2 separate regions of the Homo sapiens genome follow, and region 1 is linked to region 2. Evidence: promoter capture Hi-C in 16 types of primary human blood cells and fetal thymus (Javierre and others, 2016). All regions are on one chromosome and are shown on one strand. Each heading gives the region's core, a stretch centred on a gene start or on the middle of the fragment in contact. The rest is flanking DNA. Distances are from core to core; before and after follow the strand shown. Region 1 holds the start of LOC107986925 (a long non-coding RNA gene). Region 2 holds the start of PDLIM2 (PDZ and LIM domain 2).

The links. The method cuts DNA at HindIII sites, captures the fragments that hold promoters and counts their contacts. A CHiCAGO score of 5 or more calls a contact.
Region 1: a contact is called between a fragment that was not itself captured here and the fragment with the promoter of PDLIM2 in region 2, in 3 of 17 cell types (naive CD4 T cells, naive B cells and activated CD4 T cells). The highest score is 7.5, in naive CD4 T cells.

The regions. Positions count from the first base shown.
Region 1 is chr8:22,748,544-22,754,578 of GRCh38, reverse strand. The region is part of intron 4 of PEBP4 (phosphatidylethanolamine binding protein 4); the gene reads left to right. It overlaps LOC107986925 (a long non-coding RNA gene), which reads right to left and starts at 4,773. Exons shown (of 3, transcript XR_007060852.1): 1 at 1-4,773. It overlaps LOC124901908 (a long non-coding RNA gene), which reads right to left. Exons shown (of 3, transcript XR_007060855.1): 3 at 4,801-6,035. The HindIII fragment of the contact is 3,734 bases long and covers 116-3,849 here.
Region 2 is chr8:22,579,225-22,584,530 of GRCh38, reverse strand. PDLIM2 (PDZ and LIM domain 2) reads right to left here and starts at 4,056. Exons shown (of 9, transcript NM_001368120.1): 1 at 3,834-4,056; 2 at 3,001-3,152. The coding sequence starts at 3,926. RefSeq lists silencers at 2,161-2,455, 4,020-4,109, 4,840-4,999, 5,010-5,099, 5,200-5,269 and an enhancer at 2,130-2,822. The HindIII fragment of the contact is 20,077 bases long and covers 1-5,306 here.

The DNA of each region.
Region 1 (6,035 bases), core at 733-3,232, 170 kb before region 2:
CCTGAAAAGAGCAAAAGGCTCTCTCACTTCCAGGCCTGCTGGCAAATTTCTGATGAGAAATCTACTCCAGCTTCTAACTCCCAAAGATCTCCCAGGCATCTACTTGGGATAAGCTTTCCTAGCAATTTTTAAAGCCAATTAGAGAAAAATTAAGGAATTAAATAGAAAAATTTGTGTTGGTTAAGGTCATAAAATCATTCATTCACTCAACACACGTCTACAGAGTGAGGATTCAGTCACAGAGACAAGGTCTCTGATCTTAATACACCCGCAGTCCAGTAGGTAAGGTAGAAAAATGAGCAGTTATCCCAGGGACTTTCACAACTACGATGTAAGATACTGGAAGCACCAGGAGGGAGCACCCTGTGGGTGGGGCGGCCAGGGGTCTAGGGCAGCTTCCCAGAGGAACAGACATCAGACCCTGGGGCTTGGAGAGCCGCTGAAAGCCCAGAGCCCATCCTGAGAAAGATAAAATTTGATCTGTTTGCTTCCATTTTCCACTTTCTCTTCAACCCTCCTCTCCCTCCATCTGAACATACCCCATCAGCAACCCTCGTTCCTGCTCTATAGTCAGACTTTCCCATCTTCTTCCCCATTTGGGACCCTCAGCCCACACCCTCAGCCCACACCCTATCAAACATGTAGAATCAGCAGAGGTTGTGGGGAGGGGCCCCACTCACACCCAGACAGATGTGCTCTGTTCCCCGCACAGCTGTCCAGGCGGTAGCCCATCTGCGCTCACTTCCTGCCTCCCAGCTCCAGCCCCTCACACCTCCCACACAAGGGCGGGGAAGTCTGGTCCTGAGATTCATCCCAAAGCCAATGTTGAGGCGGCCACCAGCCCGGCAAAGCCCCAGACCCTGGCTCCCACCTTCCCCTCTCCTCCACAAGGAGTGGTGGACCAGGAAGGGCTTCAGCAAGGTGGAGACTTTGCCTAAGCCACTCTGGAGGACTCTGCCTTGAAGTTCAGCTTCAGTCTCTTGGCAGTTGTGGGAGCTGCCTAGCTCTGAAGTTCTCCCAGCATCATGTGTCCACATGAAACACGCCAATATCACTGATCTGATTTCATTATTTTGTCAAGATTAAAAGAAGGCTGCTTCACTCGAGCCAGCTATATCCAAGGGAAGAAAATTATATTTTCAAGAGAGTTTGAGGCACAAATCTGTCCCACCTTGATTGTTGTCTCCTTGTCAAAGTTCATGCGGCCCCCAGTTTCGATGCTGGAAGGTGGGTTCTGCATTACTGAGAGATAGTTTCTGGAAACCTGCTTGTCTCTGGGATGCTCACAGCTCCCTCCTGACTCCTGAGCAGGGAGCATCTATTCTCTAAGAATATAGGGATGGTGCAGGCAGCTGTGTGGTTCCCATGGAATGAACACTCCTTAAAGGCAGGAATTATTAACAGTGAGACTATTAATTTTTGTATCCCCTGTAGTACCCAGCCCTGTCTCTGCACCTGGTAGGCACTCGATCAATGTGCGCTGAACTAAGCTACCAGGATACTTCCCTGACCACACACCTGGGCCAAACAGGCAAGTGAGGAATCTGATTAACCTGCTCCATTTGCCCTTAGGAAACTCAACTTGGGCAATGGGGAAAAGAGGAGACATAGCAGGAATACGTCTCCAGCCTGGAGAAGGGATGGGGTGGTGAAGGAAGGAGAAATTGGACTGTAAAATTAACGGGCATCCCCAGCTAAGCCCACAGCCTTTTCTTGACTATCATGTCCTAATGCATGGGGAGTTAGGCAGAAAGATGACGACCTCTTCCCTTTTCCTAGAAACAGAAATGCCCTAGGAGTTTATGCAAATTCTGGAATCCTGCCTCTCCAGAATAATGGCATTGCCTTGGTGGGAACCAGCTGCTGCAGGCAGAAATGAGCCCCCAGAACAAGGGCTGGGGCCAATAACAGGAGCAGAGAGCTAGCCCAGACTTTCTGGTTGCAAGAGGAGATTCCCTTCCACGATGACTGATTGTAAATGAGGAGCATTTCTAGTTCACCCCACTCTCCCCACGGCATACACAGACACGCGCAGTCTTGGTATATGACTTTGGGTGAGAGGCAGTGCAGGTCCTTCTCCCAGGCTGGAAACCCGTTAACCAAGGGTGTGGATTTGGGCCTTTTGGATTGCTCCCTTAAAGTGAGCTTCCACAGGGTCTATGGCCAGGCAACCGTAGACTTAGTTTGCTTTATTTGGTAAAGTATCTAAGAAAGAGAAGTTCTTTCACAAAGGCATTCATGTCACCTTTTTTATCCATTTTACAAATCTGGCCACTATGGTTGTGACAGAGACCCTGAGATTCAGGTCCCAGCCTGAAAACACCCATCTCCTGATAAGCCTGAGCCTAATGTAACAGACAGGGAGGATGGGACCAGACAGGGTGGCTCACGCCTGTGATCCCAGCACTTTGGGAGGCCAAGGTGGGAGGACTGCTTGAGGCCAGGAGTGAGTTCGAGACCAACCTGGGAAACAGCAAGACTCCAACTCTATAAAATATAAAACTTTTTAAAAAAATTAGCCAGGCATGGTGGTGTGTGCCTGTAGTCCTAGCTACTCGGGAGGCTGAGGTAGGAGGATTGCCTGAGCCCAGCAGGCCAAGGCTGCAGTGCGCTATGATCAAACCACTGCATTCCAGCCTCAGTGCCAAAATGAGACCCTGCCTCAAAAAAGAAACAAAAAGAAAGAGAGGGTGGTTGAGTGGGTGGCTGGTGATGAGAAGAGTGGGTGACTGACAATGGGAAGGCAGGCTGATCTGCCAGCAACAGGCAGAGGCCAAGGGCCCCATCCACATCTGGGGCCTCTGAGGCAGGCTGCCTGGCAGAGGAGACTGCTTTGTTTTAGGAACAGTGATTTATGCTTCTTGTGGTTTCAGTCAAGAGCAACCCAAAATGTTCTGTAAATACAAATATATAGACGCACAACACACACACACACACACACACACACAGAGACACACACACACACACAGACACACACACACACACACACAGACACACTCCTCCTTATCCAAGTCAAAGCCTCCTGTTTCAGCAGCCCAGCAATGATTTGGGGCCTCTCTATCTACCACCGATTTAGGAGAAAGGGAAAATCCACATTGATACATTCACCTAGATTCCTCCCTTAGTTCATCAAGATAGGGAAGACCTAGGGTCTCACACGTGTTCCTGGACATCAGACCCAAGTTTCCCAAGGCAACCAGGATTTGCAGGGAAGAAGCAGAGGTTTGTTCCGACCACCCCCAAGAGTGGCAGGTTGTCTTGGGAGCCCTAGAGCTCACGGGTCTCTCCCAGGCATGGCAGCATCTCTAGGTGTCTGACTTGAGGGCCTCTTCCTCTGCTCTCCTACTCGTGGGATCTTAGTTCCGAGTGGTCACCCTTGCCAGCCCCAACCCTATCCAGAAGCACGGGGCTTGACCTTGGAGCTCCTGCAGCACGGATTCCCTGGGACAGATTTCACAACCCAGCACTGAGTCTTACCACAAGTTTCAGACAAAGAAGGTGTGTTGGAGCCGAGAGCATGCTTCTGCCCGCTGCGTGGGCGTCAAGTTCAATGCCTTCTTGTCAACACTTGAATGTGTTGAACATCACTCACAAGGGCATTCTTTAAGAAACCTATTAAGTTAATTACCCAGGCATTTTTTTCTCTCTCTCTCCCCCTATCCATGCATCTCATATAAAAAGAAATTTGGCTTTCTTCCTCTCTGAGATACTTTTGATGTAACTCTTCTCCCCTCGGCACAATAACATCTTGTTTATTTCTCTAACAGTCAGTCAGGGTGGCTGCACTGTACAGACTGACCCCTTTGCTCAGGTCTTAGTTCCGAGAGGGAGCTGAGAGAGAGTGAAGCTTGACCCTAGGGATGGGGAAGTGGCCCATCTGACCCCCTCCTTTCTAACTGCCCAGCCAGAATGCAATCACAAGGATGAGAATAGTCAAGGAAAAAAAACAAACTCCCACGGGATATTCCCTTCCTTCCCATAGAAGGTGAAACAGGAGTTACCCCAACGGGCAGATCAACAAGTACCTAAAAAGCACCAGCCATGTGCCCAGAACCATCCACCTTGATTTTGGAAGAAGAAAAAATTCTGCCCAGATAAATTTTTTCCAATTCCAGCCCCATGCACATCCAAGCCCCTAGGAAAATGAAAGCATTAATGTATCATAAAGAATCACAAACTGGCTGGGCGCGGTGGCTCACGCCTGTAATCCCAGCACTTTGGGAGGCCACAGCGGGTGGATCACAAGGTCAGGGGTTTGAGACCAGCCTGACCAAAGTGGTGAAACCCCGTCTCTACTAAAAATACAAAAATTAGCTGGGCGTGGTGGCAGGCACCTGTAATCCCAGCTACTCAGGAGGCTGAGGCAGGAGAATTGCTTGAACCCGCGAGGTGGAGGTTGCAGTGAGCCAAGATCACACCACTGCACTCCAGCCTGGGCAATGGAGCGAGACTCAGTCTCAAAAAAGAAAGAAAGGCTGGGTGCGGTGGCTCACGCCTGTAATCCCAGCACTTTGGGAGGCCGAGGCAGGCGGATCACATGAGGTCGGGAGTTCGAGACCAACCTGACCAACACGGAGAAACCCCGTCTTTACTAAAAATACAAAATTAGCCCCACATGGTGGCACATGCCTGTAATCCCAGCTACCTAGGAGGCTGAGGCAGGAGAATCGCTTGAACCTAGGAGGCAGAGGTTCCAGTGAGACAACATCGTGCCATTGCATTCCAGGCTGGGCAACAAGAGCGAAACTCCATCTCAAAAAAAAAAAAAAAAAAGAATGACAAACTGAGAATCAGGAGAGGTGGGTTGTAGATCCACACTGCTGCCCGTGACTGGTCCTATGGATGCCGTGGCCCTGAATTTGCTCCTCTGTAAAAGGCAGGGGGTGGACCTGGCTAAAGGGTGGCTGACCTCCCTTGCAGCTCATTGGTGCCTGCATAGCTGGCCGCAGCTACCCACCTGGATGGGGAATCTGCTCACAGGAAGGGAAGGAAAGGAAATGCTCTGTTCAGACAGTGAGCAAACGAGGGCCATCTCAGAGAGCTGATCCACAGGCTGTGTTTGGTGGCCGTGCCCTTGCTGGTGACACCCCTGACCAGGGAGGGAGGAGATGCAGGGCCTGGGGAGGGCATGGCTCTCCAGCTCTAGCTGGGTAGGTGGAGGCCGTGAGCCCGGGAAGACAGTTGTGCTCCTAGGCTGACATTACATCAATGGGATGTCTTGCCTACGGAGCTAAAACAAGAAGAGCTGCAGAGAGGTCTACAGAGACACGTGGAGGAAGCACCAAGTAACCAGGCCTCAGCCTCCCAATCATTGTATTATGGGAAGTCAGGGCTGCCAGCTATGATAAAGAAGGAACACACCCCACAGCTTCTTTGCCAAGACCATACATAAGCAAAAAGCAATTTTCAGAACTTTCCAGCCATCCCCACTCTCCTTCCTACTTCCAGGAAAACAAGAGCCCTGAAGCAGATGCAGAAGCTCCACTGGTGCTATGGGACACCCCTCCTGTTCCCACATCCCACACCCACCTCAGTCCCCTGACCCCAGATTGTCATCTCCCCAGTCCCAGCAGTGGAACCCCCCAAATTCTCCACAGACCCATCTGGGTACACAGAGCAAAAAGCATTGATGTGGTGAGGCCTCTCTGCAGAATCCCAGAGTTCAGAGGTACCCAAGGGGTCCTCTGGGCCAACACCCTTCCCCCAGGCAAGTCCGCACCTAAATCATCCAGGACTCGTGGAGGCCTCTCCTGTTCTCCTGGGGTGTGTAGTGGTGGCCGAGAAAAGGCCTACCCTGCATGTGGGAGCCTCGTAGCTTCTGGGGGGCTCTCTTCTATTTTTCTGGGATGCTCTTGCTTATAGGGAACCCCAAGACTACCAAAAGCTGTTCCACCCACCTCCCCACCCTCCCTCTGACTCAGGGCTGCTGACAGCCGGGTGAACTCTGAGTCACACCCCCTCCTTGTTCTCCCCTCAGACCACCCTCATCATGTGCAACCTAGTACAGAAGAATGCTGGGGAGGGGAGAAGAGCAA
Region 2 (5,306 bases), core at 2,807-5,306:
AAGACCAGCCTGGGCAACATAGGAAGACCTCATGACTACTAAAATTTTTTTTTAAGTAGCTGCACATGGTGGTGCATGCCGGTAGTCCCAGCTACTTGGGAGGTTGAGGTGGGAGGATCGCTTGAGCCCAGGAGATGGAGGTTGTAGTGAGCCGTGATTGTGCCACTGCCTTCCAGCCTGGGCAACACAGCGAGATTCTGTCTCAAAAAAACACCAAGGCCGGGCACGGTGGCTCACGCCTGTAATCCCAGCACTTTGGGAGGCCAAGGAGGGTGAATCTCTTGAAGTTAGGAGTTCCAGACCAGCCTGGTCATCAACAAGGTGAAACCCCATCTCTAATTAAAAAAAAAAAAAAAAAAATTTAGCCAAGCCATAGTGACGCATGCCTGTAACACCAGCTACTTGGGAGGCTGAGGCAGGAGAATTGCTTGACCCAGGGAGGCAGAGGTTACAGTGAGCCAAAATTGTACCACTGCACTCCAGGCTGGGCGACAGAGTGAGACTCCATCTCAAACGACAGTAACAACAGCAAAACCCACCCCAAAAAAAGAAAGGATAGTTTGGTTCTAAAAAGTAGAACGTACATAACTTCATCAGAAAGTTCAAACATTCAGTTTTATTAGAGAGTCCTCACATTATCCTGCCCTTTTTTTTTTTTTTTTTTTTTTTTTTTTTTCTATTTTGCCTGGACTTTGTCACTGATATCACTCAGCCTCGGGTTTGTAGATTGATTTGGGGGAAGATTACTGATTTTTTTGTTTTTTGAGATGGAGTCTCGCTCTGTCACCCAGGCTGGAGCGCAGTGGTGCAATCTCGGCTCACTGCAACCTCCACCTCCTGGGTTCAAGCAATTCTCCCTGCCTCAGCCCCCCAGGTAGCTGGGACTACAGGTGCCCACTAGCATGCCCGGCTAATTTTTGTATTTTCAGTAGAGACGGGGTTTCGCCGTATTGGCCAGGCTGGTCTTGAACTCCTGACCTCAGGTGATCCGCCCGACTCGGCCTCCCAAAATGCTGAAATTACAGGTGTGAGCCACTGCGCCCGGCCTGATTACTGATTTCATAGAAATAATCCTTTATATTTTAACCCATGGAGAAACTGAAACCCAGAGAGGGAAAGTGAGCTGCCTCAAGTTCTAGAGCCCACGGTGACTGGGCCAGCTGTGCACCCTGCCCACTGGAGGCCAGGGTGCCTTTGAGCGCGTCACTCCTGATCCCTTTCTCAGGGGTCTCCCCAGTTAAACAAAGGGCGAGACCCGCCTGCCTCCTTCCAGACAAGTAGGCCCAGCTCCCCACCAGCGAGAGGGGCACGCCCTCCCAGCTCCCTGGGTACCCTCTTCCAAAGTGGAACCCAGCTGGAGCCCTGAATGGGAGGTAACTGAAGTCTGGGCTGAGGGACAGCCTGCCTCGTCCCATCTTGCCACACATTCCTGGCCGTGAGGCTGCCTCTAGAGATGTAGGGCAACAGGACCCTCCGCTTCCTGGGAGAGCCATGGGATCAGGGTGAGGAGAGCTCAGTCTCTGGCTCCAGCCTGGAGCCCTGCTTCCTGCCCCAGGGCTTCTGAATACCAGAGAGGTCACCTGGGAGGGTAGGAGGCGGGAGATGGGGGCGGGGGGGGGGGTGGGCATCACGTCAGCAAAAGTAAGGAGACTGGGCCGGGCGCGGTGTAATACCTGTAATCCCAGCACTTTGGGAGGCTGAGGCAAGTGGATCACGAGGTCAGGAGATCGAGACCATCCTGGCCAACGTGGTGAAACCCCATCTCTACTAAAAATACAAAAATTAGCTGGGCGTGGTGGCACGCGCCTGTAGTCCCAGGTACTCAGGAGGCTGAGTCAGGAGACTCTCTTGAACCCGGGAGGCAGAGGTGGCAGTGAGCCGAGATCACGCTACTGCACTCCAGCCTGGCAACAGAGCGAGACTCTGTCTCAAAAAAAAAAAAAAAAAAAAAATTAAGAGACTGGAGTCTGGGCTTGCCTGGTGCAGAACCAGAGGCCTGACTTACAGCCCAGGCCTACCTCCCCCGAGCCCTGGTCCCTCCAGAGAACCCCAGAGGAAGAGACAGTCCGAGGCTCCTGCCCTTCCGCTGCCAGACCCTCAGCCTCCTGTAGCTTTCTGCCCCATTCCCAGATGCCATGAGGTGCTCTCTACCCTCCTTCTTGGGGTCCCGCTCCTGCAAACACCCAGGGACCTGAATGACATGAAGGGAGCCGGCTTCTGCCACACCACAGGGCAGGGCAGTTGGAGAAGGAGGGGCTTGGTAGGGCTGAAGAGAGCAGGACAATGTGGGGGTGGCCAGGATGCAAGAGGTGTCTGACTCAGGTTCTAGGCCCGTGCAGAGGGCTCTCCTGGCTCGGGGATCTCCTGGCATTCCCGATCTGTGACTCACTGCAATGCCCCACCCCAGGGAGCCACCTGTTCCCCCTATAGCTTGGCCTCCAGGCCCCACCCTGGCCCCACCTTGGCTTATAGGCTCAAAACCCTAGGAGTAACCCAGGATCGGGCATCTGCCTTCAGTGATGGGGAGGAACAGACAGCCTCTATGAGGAATGAGCCCCCCAAGTCCTCACTTCCAGCTGGGAACTAAACAAAGGCCATGCCCTGTTGGAAGCAGGAGTCCTGGGGATGCAGCCTCGGGCATACCTTTCCCAGAAGGTTCCCCTCTTCAACCCACTTCATGCCCACGCCCTGTGCCCTGCACACTCTTGGGAACCAGTCAAACCCGGGCTTCAAGGTGGCTGGTGCCAGCTCGCCCTGCCCAGCCTGTGACTGCACGCCCAGCCTGGCGCCCACCTTTACCCAACCAGGCATGGGAACACCCCTCAGCCCACCCTGCTGCAGGAAGCAGAGCCCAGGACCTTCTCACCAAGGTGTGGAGAGGGCCCAAGAAGGCCGCTTTAGGGCTGAGCTCTAGCCCATGGGCAGGAGCAAGGGCTGCTCAATACGTGGGGTGGTGGAGGAGGGGGAATGCCACAGGCTCTGCAGAGCGGGAGGCCCTACCGGTCCAGCTGCAGCCGCAGGGGCGAGGGGCTCTGGCGGATCTTGCTCTGGGCCTCGGCATGCAGCATGCCCTCCGCGCTTTCCCCGTTGATGGCCACGATTATGTCTCCAGGCCGGAGGTCAGCGTCCTTGGCTTTGCCCCGCTCGGCCACCTGTAGGGATGAGGAGCTGGCATGCTCAGACCGTGGCCCAGCTGGAGAAGGGACTTCCCACTCTGCTACCCAAGAAACACAGAGGCTGGCTTGACCCAGGCCGGCCTGCACCCTCCTGCATGTCCCTCTGCCTGCTCATGACACCCAGCTGATCAGCCATCCCCTCCAGGAGCGCAGGTGGCAGCCCCCACCCCACACTGGCATTCTAATGGGCCTCCCAAAGAATGTGCAGTGGCAGAATTTCAGGAACTGTGCTTGGAAATACTTTTGGATAGAGAGCCTTGCCCGTGCAAATCGCACCTTGCAGGTGGCTGCCTGCACAGCCCTCCTGTGAATGTTCCCAGCCTGGGCCCAGGTCAAGAGGAGACTGCCAAGAACTCCGGGGCTCTTGTTCTAGTAATCACCCCAAATGGCTGCCTGCAAGTGTGGGGATAGCAACTGGGGAGGCAAGAGCCGGCCCTGTCCTGGTCCCAGCTCCCTTTCACTCCCAAGGTCTGTTCCTGAAGTGGCCACCACATCCCCGTGGCAAAGGGCCACGGCTCCCTTACAGCCAGCACGCCAGGCAGCAGCAGATCCCTAGCTCCAGAACAGAAAAAGCAAGCCATCTGTGCAGAGTGGGGTGAACAGGGCCGACCTCGCTTCTGGCAGGACCTTCTCATCTCTTTGAGCCACCATCCTTACCTTAGTCACCATGATGGGCGTGTGGAAATCCCTGCCCCCTGTGATACGGAAGCCCCAGGGCGCTGGCCCGGCCACATCCACCGTCAACGCCATACCTGAGGAAGAGAGGACCAGGAGGTGAAGTCCATGCCCCTAGCCGGCTCTGGGGGCACTGTAAGGCAGCAGGAGAGGAGCCAAAGGGAGAAGGAGAGGGCACCACAGCTCCCGGAGCAGCTACTCAGGGGCTTTGGGGTGGGTAGAGGAAGTGGCTAACTCCCTCCCTCAGCCCGGTTTCACTTCCCCCCACCCTGGGAAGCCATGCTTCTGGGTTCTCCCTTCCTTAGTCTTCAGCCCAGGGAGCGACTCCCAGGAGGGGGCTGCCCAGGCTGCCAGGCAGGGGGCTTGCTGGAGCATGGGGGGCAGGGGCTGGCAAGTGGAGGGGATGCCAGCACCCCCTCAGTCTCCCCTCCTCCACCATCAGGGCTCAGTCCCACTAGCGCTTGCTTCCTGTCCCCAAAACCCACAGCACACGGTACTTCCTCTCCACTCTGGGGGAGGGCTGGTGAGTGGCCTAGGGAGAGCAGGGCTCAGGAAGCAGGAGTGACGGGTCAAGGAACAGGCTGGCACCAGTACAGACTGTGTAAGTCACTGGCCAGGTGAAGGACTGGTGGGGTGAGGCCGAGTCTTCACATGGGCCTCCTAGCTGCCCACCTCGTTCTTGGCAAAGTGGATCACACGGGCAAGACCGGGCTCCCCACCTCCCCCAGGGGCCGGCTGCCAGGGCAAGGAGGCCAGGGTTCATCTGTCAAGCTGGACACACCCACCCCCAGATTCCTGATGCTGCCCGACAGACAGCCGGGGTGACAGGCCTCCCATCCACAGCCCCTCCGCTGGGCAAGGAAGTGCCCTTGCAGACAGACCCCTGTGGGATTTCCTGAGCCTCTAGCTCTGGAGCCAGGAGCCAATCCAGGCAGGAAGCCGCGGTGCCAGGCTGGGCACCACCCTGCCCAGCACCCATCCTGGGGCTGCCCTGGGGACGCAAGTGCTGCGAGAATCTATCAAGAGCACCAGCGGTCTGTCCGCTCCATCCCCGGCTGCCTTCCCCTTGGGCCCAGGCCTAGCCTCTGTTCCCAGCACCGCCCCCACCCCAGTCCCCGAGGCCGGCTCGCGGCCGCCCCGAGATTCCCAGACCTTTGAGCCGGTCAGTGGACTCCGCGCTGCGGGCGCCGCGGGGAGGTGCCCAGCCCGATGGCCCGGCTCTACCAGTTCTGGAGCCTCCTTCGCTCCGAGGGCAAAGTACCCTGCGGGCTGGGGGCTGGAGGAGGAGCGCTCCGGCCGGGGAGAGCGCAGCTCGCGGGGGCGCCCCCGCTGATGCGAGGCTCCAGGGAGCTGGGCCGCGGACGAGGCCAGGGTTCCGCGCCGACAGGGGCGCGGAGAGGAGCCCGGCGCCGGGGAGGGCGGGCCGCGCGGAGAGGCGCAGGTGGGCGCGCTCAC